Linked DNA regions of Homo sapiens: all the other regions are linked to region 2. The links are contacts of gene promoters, found by promoter capture Hi-C in blood cells and fetal thymus (Javierre and others, 2016). All regions are on one chromosome and are shown on one strand. The core of a region is centred on a gene start or on the middle of the fragment in contact, and the rest is flanking DNA. Distances in the headings are between cores, read along the strand shown. Region 1 overlaps BLK (BLK proto-oncogene, Src family tyrosine kinase). Region 2 holds the start of FAM167A-AS1 (FAM167A antisense RNA 1). Region 3 has its middle 23 kb from the start of LINC00208.

What was found. The method cuts DNA at HindIII sites, captures the fragments that hold promoters and counts their contacts. A CHiCAGO score of 5 or more calls a contact.
Region 1: a contact is called between a fragment that was not itself captured here and the fragment with the promoter of FAM167A-AS1 in region 2, in 1 of 17 cell types (M2 macrophages). The highest score is 5.6, in M2 macrophages.
Region 3: a fragment that was not itself captured here is called in contact with the fragment with the promoter of FAM167A-AS1 in region 2 in 1 of 17 cell types (naive B cells); the score reaches 5.5 in naive B cells.

Annotation. Positions count from the first base shown.
Region 1 is chr8:11,538,213-11,540,950 of GRCh38, reverse strand. The region is part of intron 1 of BLK (BLK proto-oncogene, Src family tyrosine kinase); the gene reads right to left. Among named protein-coding and RNA genes, the nearest start is that of BLK-AS1, 19 kb to the left of the region's middle. RefSeq lists an enhancer at 1,861-1,940 and a silencer at 2,623-2,738. The HindIII fragment of the contact is 1,866 bases long and covers 469-2,334 here.
Region 2 is chr8:11,366,964-11,369,855 of GRCh38, reverse strand. FAM167A-AS1 (FAM167A antisense RNA 1) reads right to left here and starts at 1,454. Exons shown (of 7, transcript NR_026814.1): 1 at 1,404-1,454. It also overlaps the pseudogene TDH. The HindIII fragment of the contact is 6,691 bases long and covers 1-2,892 here.
Region 3 is chr8:11,598,263-11,600,979 of GRCh38, reverse strand. No RefSeq gene overlaps it. Among named protein-coding and RNA genes, the nearest start is that of LINC00208, 23 kb to the right of the region's middle. RefSeq lists an enhancer at 706-1,542. The HindIII fragment of the contact is 6,914 bases long and covers 1-2,717 here.

The DNA.
Region 1 (2,738 bases), core at 152-2,651, 170 kb before region 2:
TGTATTCCCAAGGGAGATTTGTCTATGAGGCATTAGCATTAAGGTGCGCTGGCTTTGTAACAGATATTGAGGAGCTCTCTTTTTTTTTTTTTTCTATCTTCTTGAGTGGTTTCATAACAGTGGGGTTATCTGTTCCTCACAGGCTAAATAGAACTCAGTTGTGAAGCCATCTGTGTCTGGGGCCCTTTCAAATAGTAAATCTTTAAAGACATTTCCAATTTCTTCTATAGGAATGATCTATTCCCATTTTTTCTCCTCTTTGTGCCATTTTGATGATTTATATGGTTTATAGATCTTTAATTTCATCTACATTTTCCAATCTGTTGCCATAGTTTTATGTAGCATTGTCTTGTAATTATTATACTCTGTTCTCTTTTTTGATTGTGATGTTTTTCTTGTTCCTAATATAAATGGAATGTTCTTTTAATTAAAATTATAATTTGTAATTGCATAAAATCATCTGAAGCTTTACATGACTAAATTAAGTCTTAACCTAGCTTTATAATTATGAAATAGAAGATTGTAATCAAAACCGCATGAAATTGGAATAATAAAAGTAGACAACAATCATCAGAGCAGAATAAAAAACATACAAACAGATTTTGGTAAATACAGGAATCGCGTATGTGAAAAAGATAGCATTTTAATTCAGTAGAAAGTGGATAGTTTATTTTAATAAATGGTATTAGGAAAATGACTATTTACCTTAAGGAAAATACAATTGAACCCCTACCTCACATGATATTAAAAAATAAATTCTAGGTGTATGACTGAAAAAAATAAAAAACAAAAATGTAATTAAAAGAAATGTAAGAAACTGTGTATATAACCCAGAGTTTGGAGACAACTACTAACAAAGATAAAATACCCAGAAGCGAAGAGAGAACAAAAAAAGTACAAATTCATAAACATTAAAAATATTAGATGGTATAAGAAACTACTCATGAAGTTCGTAGATAAGCAATAGATTGGGTAAGAGATTGCAAAGCATCAGATAAATGTGTATTCATAATATATACAAAGCTCATAAACTTTTGACAGGAAGTATATTGCAGCATATAATTCATTCAATAGAAAAATGTGTAAAGATAAGAAATAGGAAGTTAGTGCAACACAAACCCAAATAGTAAAATGTTTGTTATAATTATTGTTTCATTTGTTCCTTCACGCTCCATTTCTAGGATTAATCTTCTGTGAGAGCTGGAATCTTTGTTTTATTCATTGCTGAATCCAAATTGCTAAACCAATGTCTGGCACAGAGTGTGGGCTTAATAAATATTTATTAGACAAAACATGAAATATTATTGGAAGAAGCAATCTTTTAAATTCTTTTAAAGGGCAATCTTTTAAATTCTGTTAAAATAAAAAAGCACACATACCTTTTGATTTTCAGTCCCACTCTGGACTATCTCAGGTTAATAAAACATCATTATATAGACACATGTGAGAGATGAAAATGTTTGTTGTAGTAATAGTTGGAAAAACAATCCCCTCCCCCGAAAAAAAATCCCAAACAGAAAACAACAATGTAACTGCCCAGCAATTGAAGACTTGTTGAATAAATCTACACTCTATAAATCTCTCATACAACTACTAAAAAAAATGTGCTGGATCTTCACCAGTGAGGTCAAGAGGAATTTCGGTACCATGTTGTTACACGAGAAAAGTAAGACCCAAAGAGGTGCATGAGGGAATCCCATATTTGCAAACACCAAATGAAAAGAAACCTCTATTCAGGCGTGTAGATATGTTTGCATATTACACAGAAAGAGGCTGGGGAGGATGAACACCAAGTTGTTTACTGTGGTTATTGTTAGAGGAAGGGAGAGTACAAAACAGAGGTGTGGTGTAAGGCAAAACAAAACAAAAAAAAAACCAGCGGACTTAAAAAACGGTGTGTGTGCTAATGCAAAGCAGGTCCCACCAAAGTATTTTCTAAATGGATTTTGGATTATAAGACTTCATGTGACTTTGACTTTCTTTCTTTTAATTGTATATATTTCTTAAATTCTTTAATACTAAGCATATATTATTGATACAAGCAGAAAAATAAAAGGAGGATTTGAGTGATTTGCCCAGCAACAGAGGAGCATAAGGCCTGGAGCCAGGGCCAGCCTGCAGTTCTTGACAATGACCGTTAAGTGGCCAGCCAGGGCTGCCTGAACCTCAGGCCTTTCGTGGCCTCTCTCAGCCTCCCTGACTCAACGAAGGGCCAGTGGTCAGCAGCTCCTAGTATATTCCCCAGACTTGGACTCATACTTCCGCATCTGCCCAGGTGACCAGCCCTCTTGTCTTTCTTAGTCTGGCCAGCCATATTGCCATTGACTTTAAGCTTCCTGGCAAACACCTGTGTCCACTGAGACAACATAATTGAACATTGGTTGTTCAATTTATTGAACAAAGAACCGGACAGAAAGTAAAATTCCTAAGATTAAATGACCCACTACTTACACTTCTGTCCTTTGACTCCTTAGCAGTGTGTGTGCAGATGATTTTCCATGGGTCTCATGAGTACCTCAGGTCTCTATGGGTCCCCCTACTCCAGTGGCTTTGACTGGAGACCTGGGTTCCTCAAGAGGCCATGGGACAACCAGGGCTGTCACTGGTGCTCGGGCTGCACCCAGCAGTTTCAGGTTGGGTGAAGCCAGGAAGTGCAGAAGTCCAGACAGAGGCAAAACGCATCACACACTGGCTGGGGCTCCAGATGGCTTTGCTGCATTGTGGGAAGGGTGTGAGTC
Region 2 (2,892 bases), core at 205-2,704:
TCCTAAACTTTATATATGTAAGTTGGCTAAAAAAAAGTTTTCTGGGATCTTCACATTGGAAGGTAAGGGGTGGCCTGTTTAGCTACCTTATAGACAAACATACTAAAGCTATAAAAACAGTGCCATGAAATAATTTTTTTTAAAGTGACTACCCTAAAAAAAAATCATTAAAAAACAAGATTCCTTTCTCACCGGTGATTTTTGGAAGCAATTCACTGATTTAGAGGCAGTTATCATCCGGTTATGTGAGATCTAGGATTTATTCACTCACGGCTCTTGTATTAGAATGTTAAGATTCTCCAGCAAAAAATGAAGTTTATATTCTTCAAACCTTTTAGAAAAATAAAACTTTCAACTGATCCTGTTGCCTCAGCCTCCCAAAAGTGCTGGGATTACAAGTATGAGTCATTGCACCCAGCCACAAAAATAAAACTTTTCAACAAATGTAAACCATACTGAGGTCCATGAATATGTGCCAAGAGGAAGGTGTTGATGGTCGAGAATTTCATCACAAATTAATCCAACTCGTTCCGAAGATAAATTTGACCACATAAAATGAAGAGGCAAGTAGGTGTTTACGCCCTGTGACCCAGTAATTGTACTTCTAGGTTTCAGCAATTAAATAGAATGACATCATTATGATACTCCATTCAACGAGTTATGCAGCTATCTTTAAATGGCAAATGTTAAAACTACATGTAAGTTCTTTGTAACGCATAGAGGACTGGAGAATATTTTAAAACAGCTACCATGTGACATGGCAAAAATTGAAAGTGAGTCTTTTCCAAAACTTTTGACAATATTGTCTTAGCACTACTTTTATAGTAAAAGAAAAGAAAAAGGTTTCACCTTCCACTCCTAGATTGTATAAGCACAGGAGAAAATAAAAGGTATACACTAGTTTTTTTGTGTGTTGTTGTTTGAGATGGTCTCGCTCTGTGGCTCAGGCTGGAGTATGGTGGCGCAAGCATAGCTCATTGCAGCCTCAAACTCCTGGCTACAAGTGATCCCTCAGCTTCAGCCACGTGAGTAGCAGCTACAGGTGTGCATCACCACATCTGGCTTAAATTATTTTTGTAGAGATGAGAGTCTTGCTATGTTGTCCAGGCTGGTCTTGAACTCCTGGCTTTAAGCAATCCTCCTGCCTCAGCCTCCTAAAGTACTGATTACAGGTGTGAGCCACTGCACTGGGTCCCACACTACACTGCTAACATGTTATTGATTGGGTTTGGAGGGGAAGACAACTTTATTATATATCTTTTAAATTGTCTGAACTCTTAATAAACATTTTTTTAAAATGACAGAATTTAAAGCATTTTCTGAACACCCTTACCATAAAATACAATCACAAATTGGTGATTTGGCCTATGTGAATTAAAAAATACTAAATATCTCCCACCTACCATAGTAAGTGTCCAAAGCACTGCAGTAGCTTTCACTAATCCAGTCTGTTCTGGACTCCAGGCCATCTATCTTGCTGGCAGACTTCGGGATCGCTGTTTGTGTAGCAACACAAGGCACATCCCAGCAACGCCACACACAAACATGTGAGCAGAAAACTAATAACCACCGGTAGCCTGTGTAAAACATCAGAACAAAGCCAATCTTTGTATTCTTTCTTTTTTATTTATAAATAAACTATTTTTGTGGTTAAACCCACTTTTCCTTCAAATAGCTTTTTGGGTTATTTCCAAATTAATCATAAAAAACCCTTTCTCCCAACAGAACGGAAAGCATTTTACAGGAAAACATTGATGGGCTCCGGGATCCCAAGATGTGCACCAGATACTGAGTGTTCAGACAGAAGGGACAACTCTAATTCTAGTCTTGGAGTACAAAGATGTCAGTGAATAAGAATCATCCAAAGAAGCTGAAGCATTCATTATTTTTTCACTCTTATTTGAGATCTCCTGGAGGTGTGTTTACAGATTGGGAAAGATTCAAGGAACCTGTTTGGAACAAACCCCTCCAAATGATCCGAATTAAAGGTCATTCTAGGAGCCTGGTAGAAATGCTGGAAGGTTAGGGTCTAGGAGACAAAGGTCACTCGAGTTGCTGCTTCTTATCTTATGAAAGGGAAGAATTGCTTGTTCCTTTAAGATAACTGAGAATAAATTAATCAAACTTAAGAACTGTTTTTTAAACTATAAACAGTAAGCAATCATTTTAAAACTCAATTATCTACCCAAATGTTCACAGCAGCATTATTCATAATAGCTTAAAAAGTGCAAAAAACCTAAATGTCCCTCAATGGATGAATGGATAGAGAAAATAAGAGGATTACTCATACAATGGAATATTACTTAGCAATAAAAAATGAAGTAGTGATACATGCTAAAACATGGATGAACCTTGAAAATGGACTGCTTAATTAAAGAAGCCACTAAAAGACAACCACATTCCACTTACATAAAATGCTCAGAACAGACAAACCCAGGGACAGAAGAAGTACATTAGTGGTTGCCGAGGGTGGGAAGGGCTTATATAATATGATTTCTTTGTGGGGTGATGAAATGGCCTAAAATTAGATTATAGTGATGGTTGCAAAACTTTTTAATACATTGAAAACCACAGAACTATAAATGAGTGAATTTTATGGTATGTAAACTATATCTCAAACTTTCAAAAAAAGAATTCATTACTAACTTTCTGATTTTAAAAAATAAAATCTTCCTGCCTCTCAAGAGCAGCCCAAAAGAAAAATAACAAAAAAATAAAATCTACAAACATAAACCTTATTAAGTGGAGGAAAAAGCTACAGTAATGTAACTGTTAAACAATTCAATTACCTAAAAGTTCTCCAGTTAATAGTCAAATAGATTTTAAATCCAGTTATGCCTTCAAAAAAATCCACGCTTTGACCTAACAGTTCAAAACTCCAAATGCATAACA
Region 3 (2,717 bases), core at 8-2,507, 230 kb before region 2:
GTGTGTCTATGTGTATGTACACATGTAAATCAGTATTTTTTAGTGCAAAGGATAAAGTGAACTGAGAATATCATAAACACAGGCTCTTTAGGGCTCCTTCAGCGAACAGATAGTCTCATTTGTAACAAACACGTGTTGTTGATTCGCCAAATGATACAATGCTGAAAAATAATGTGCTTTTCTCCAAAAATCCTCCAACTGTTCCCTCATTCCTACTTCTATACATAGGTACATTTCTTAGCAAATGCCGTGTCCTGGAATTCAAAAATCAGGCTAGAACGGTTACAGCCAAGAGGAGCCTCAGGAGGCATGATGATGACATATACTCCAGGGTCATGGAAGAAAAAAAAGGGCATTAGGTGACAACTAAGTATCTGAAAAAATATGGACTTTAGTTTGTAGTAACGTATCAATAATAGTATTGGTGCATTAATTTGACAAGTTTAACATACTAATGTAAGATGTTAACAATGATGGAAACTGCGTGGAGGAATGTGGGAACTCTCTGTACTATCTTTGCAGCTTTTCCATAAATCTAAATCTATGCTAAAATAGAAAGTTTATTAAAAACAATCCGGCTGGCCATTGGGGGCTCCCGCATGTAATCCCAGCATTTTGGGAGGCCAAGGCCGGTAGATTGCTTGAGCCCAGGAATTTGAGACCAACTGGGTAACATGGAACCTTGTCTCTACAAAAAAATACAAAAATTAGCTGAGTGTGGTGGTGTGCACCTGTAGTCCCAGCTACTCAGGAGGCCGAGGAGGGAGGATCGCATGAGCCCACGAGTCCAAGGCTGTGGTGAGCCCTGACCACACCACTGTGTTCCGGCCTGGATGACAGAGTGAGACCCTATCTCAAAACAAACAAACAAACAAACAAAAAACAATTGTGCCTGGCCTGGTTTGATGGACTCCTGTGCCAAATAAGGGTTACAGGTGGGAGGTGGGTGAGTTGAATGAAAAATCAGAAGGCTTGTGATGGCTTCATCTGAAGTCATCTCTGGGAGTGCTTTGCCATAAACATTCTTCTTTCCCTGTTGTCTCAGCTGACCCTTATGCCAACTGCCTGAGATATTATTATCCCATTTACAGATGGAGAAACCAAGTTTGGAGAGTGCTGTCGTTTGAATGTGTCCCCTCCAAAATTCATGCTGAAAGTTAATCCCCACGGTGGCAGTATAAAGGGGTGAGGGCCTCAGGAGGTGATGAGGCTGTGAGGGCTCCTCCCTTATGAATGATTCATGCCTCATCAAGGGGCAGTCCGGGGCCAGCTGAGGCCTTTCCCCCTCCCGCCAGGTGAGAAGGTGCCAGGTGAGCATGCGCCAGGTAAGCTCGCAGCAGGAAGGCGCCACCATGGAAGCAGAGAGCAGCCCTCTCTAGACACCAGTGTCGGCCCCTTCATCTCAGACTTCCGGCCTCCAGAACTGTGAGGAATCCATTTCTCTTCTTTATAAATTACCCAATCTATGGTATTTTGTTACAGCAGCACAAGCAGAGGGAGCAGTTCTGAGCCTCCCACCACCCATTCCACCCACGCAGCTGTGCCTTTTCACAGGCAGTCTCTGCACCCACGGCTCACTTTGCTCTGTGATCCTTCCCCCCTCTCTGCCTGACTGGTGGGCCAAACCTTAATATGCCTTCGAAATTTGCTCCTATTTCACCTCCTCTGAGGAGAATTCCTTGACAGTCCCTCCTAATTCACCAGGCCACACTCTGTATGTCTTCTGAGGCCTGTGCAAATGAATTCTCTCCTCCAGCTTTTCAGATCCTGTATTCAAGCACGCCCTCCTCCAGGGTTTCCTCTTTGAATCCACACTATCCAGCCTAATGCCTAGAGGACAGTGGCTGGGAGATTTGCATTTCTTGAATTGAATTGAAGCTGGCATGAAACCTGCATTAATCAGCTCAGGCTGCCATGACAAAGTCCCACAGACCAGGTGGCTTCAACACCAGCCGTTCATCTTCTCACTGTTCTGGAGGCTAGAAGTCCAAGCTCAAGGTGCCGGCAGGGTTGGTTTCTCCTGAGGCCTCTCCCCTGGGTTTGTGGATGGCCACATTCTTGCTGTGTCCTCACATGGTCATCCCTCTGTGTTTCTGTGGCCTAATCTCCTTTTCTTTTATTATTATTATTTTTGAGACAGAGTCTTGCCGTGTCACCCAGGCTGGAGTGTAGTGGCTTGATCTCAGCTCACTGCGACCTCCAACTCCCAGGTTCAAGCGATTATCCTACCTCAGCCTCCCGAGTAGGTACCACCATGCACAGCTAATTTTTGTATTTTTAGTAGAGATGGGGTTTTACCATGTTGGCCAGGCTGGTCTCGAACACCTGACCTCAGGTGACCTGCCTGCCTTGGCCTTCCAAAATGCTGGAATTGCAGGCTTGAGCCATGAAACCCAGACCCTAATCTCCTTTTTTTTTTTTTTTTTTTTTTTTTTTAAGACAGAGTCTTGCTCTGTCACCCACGCATGCAGTGGAGAGATGTTGGCTCACTGCAACCTCCACCTACCAGGTTCAGGCGATTCTCCTGCCTCAGCCTTCGAGTAGCTGGGATTACAGGCATGCACCACCACATCCAGCTAATTTTTGTGTTTTTAGTAGAGACAGGGTTTCACCATGTTGGCCAGGCTTGTCTTGAACTCCTGACCTCATGTGACCCACCCACCTCGGCCTCCCAAAGTGCTAGGATTACAGGCATGAGCCACCACACCCAGCCAATC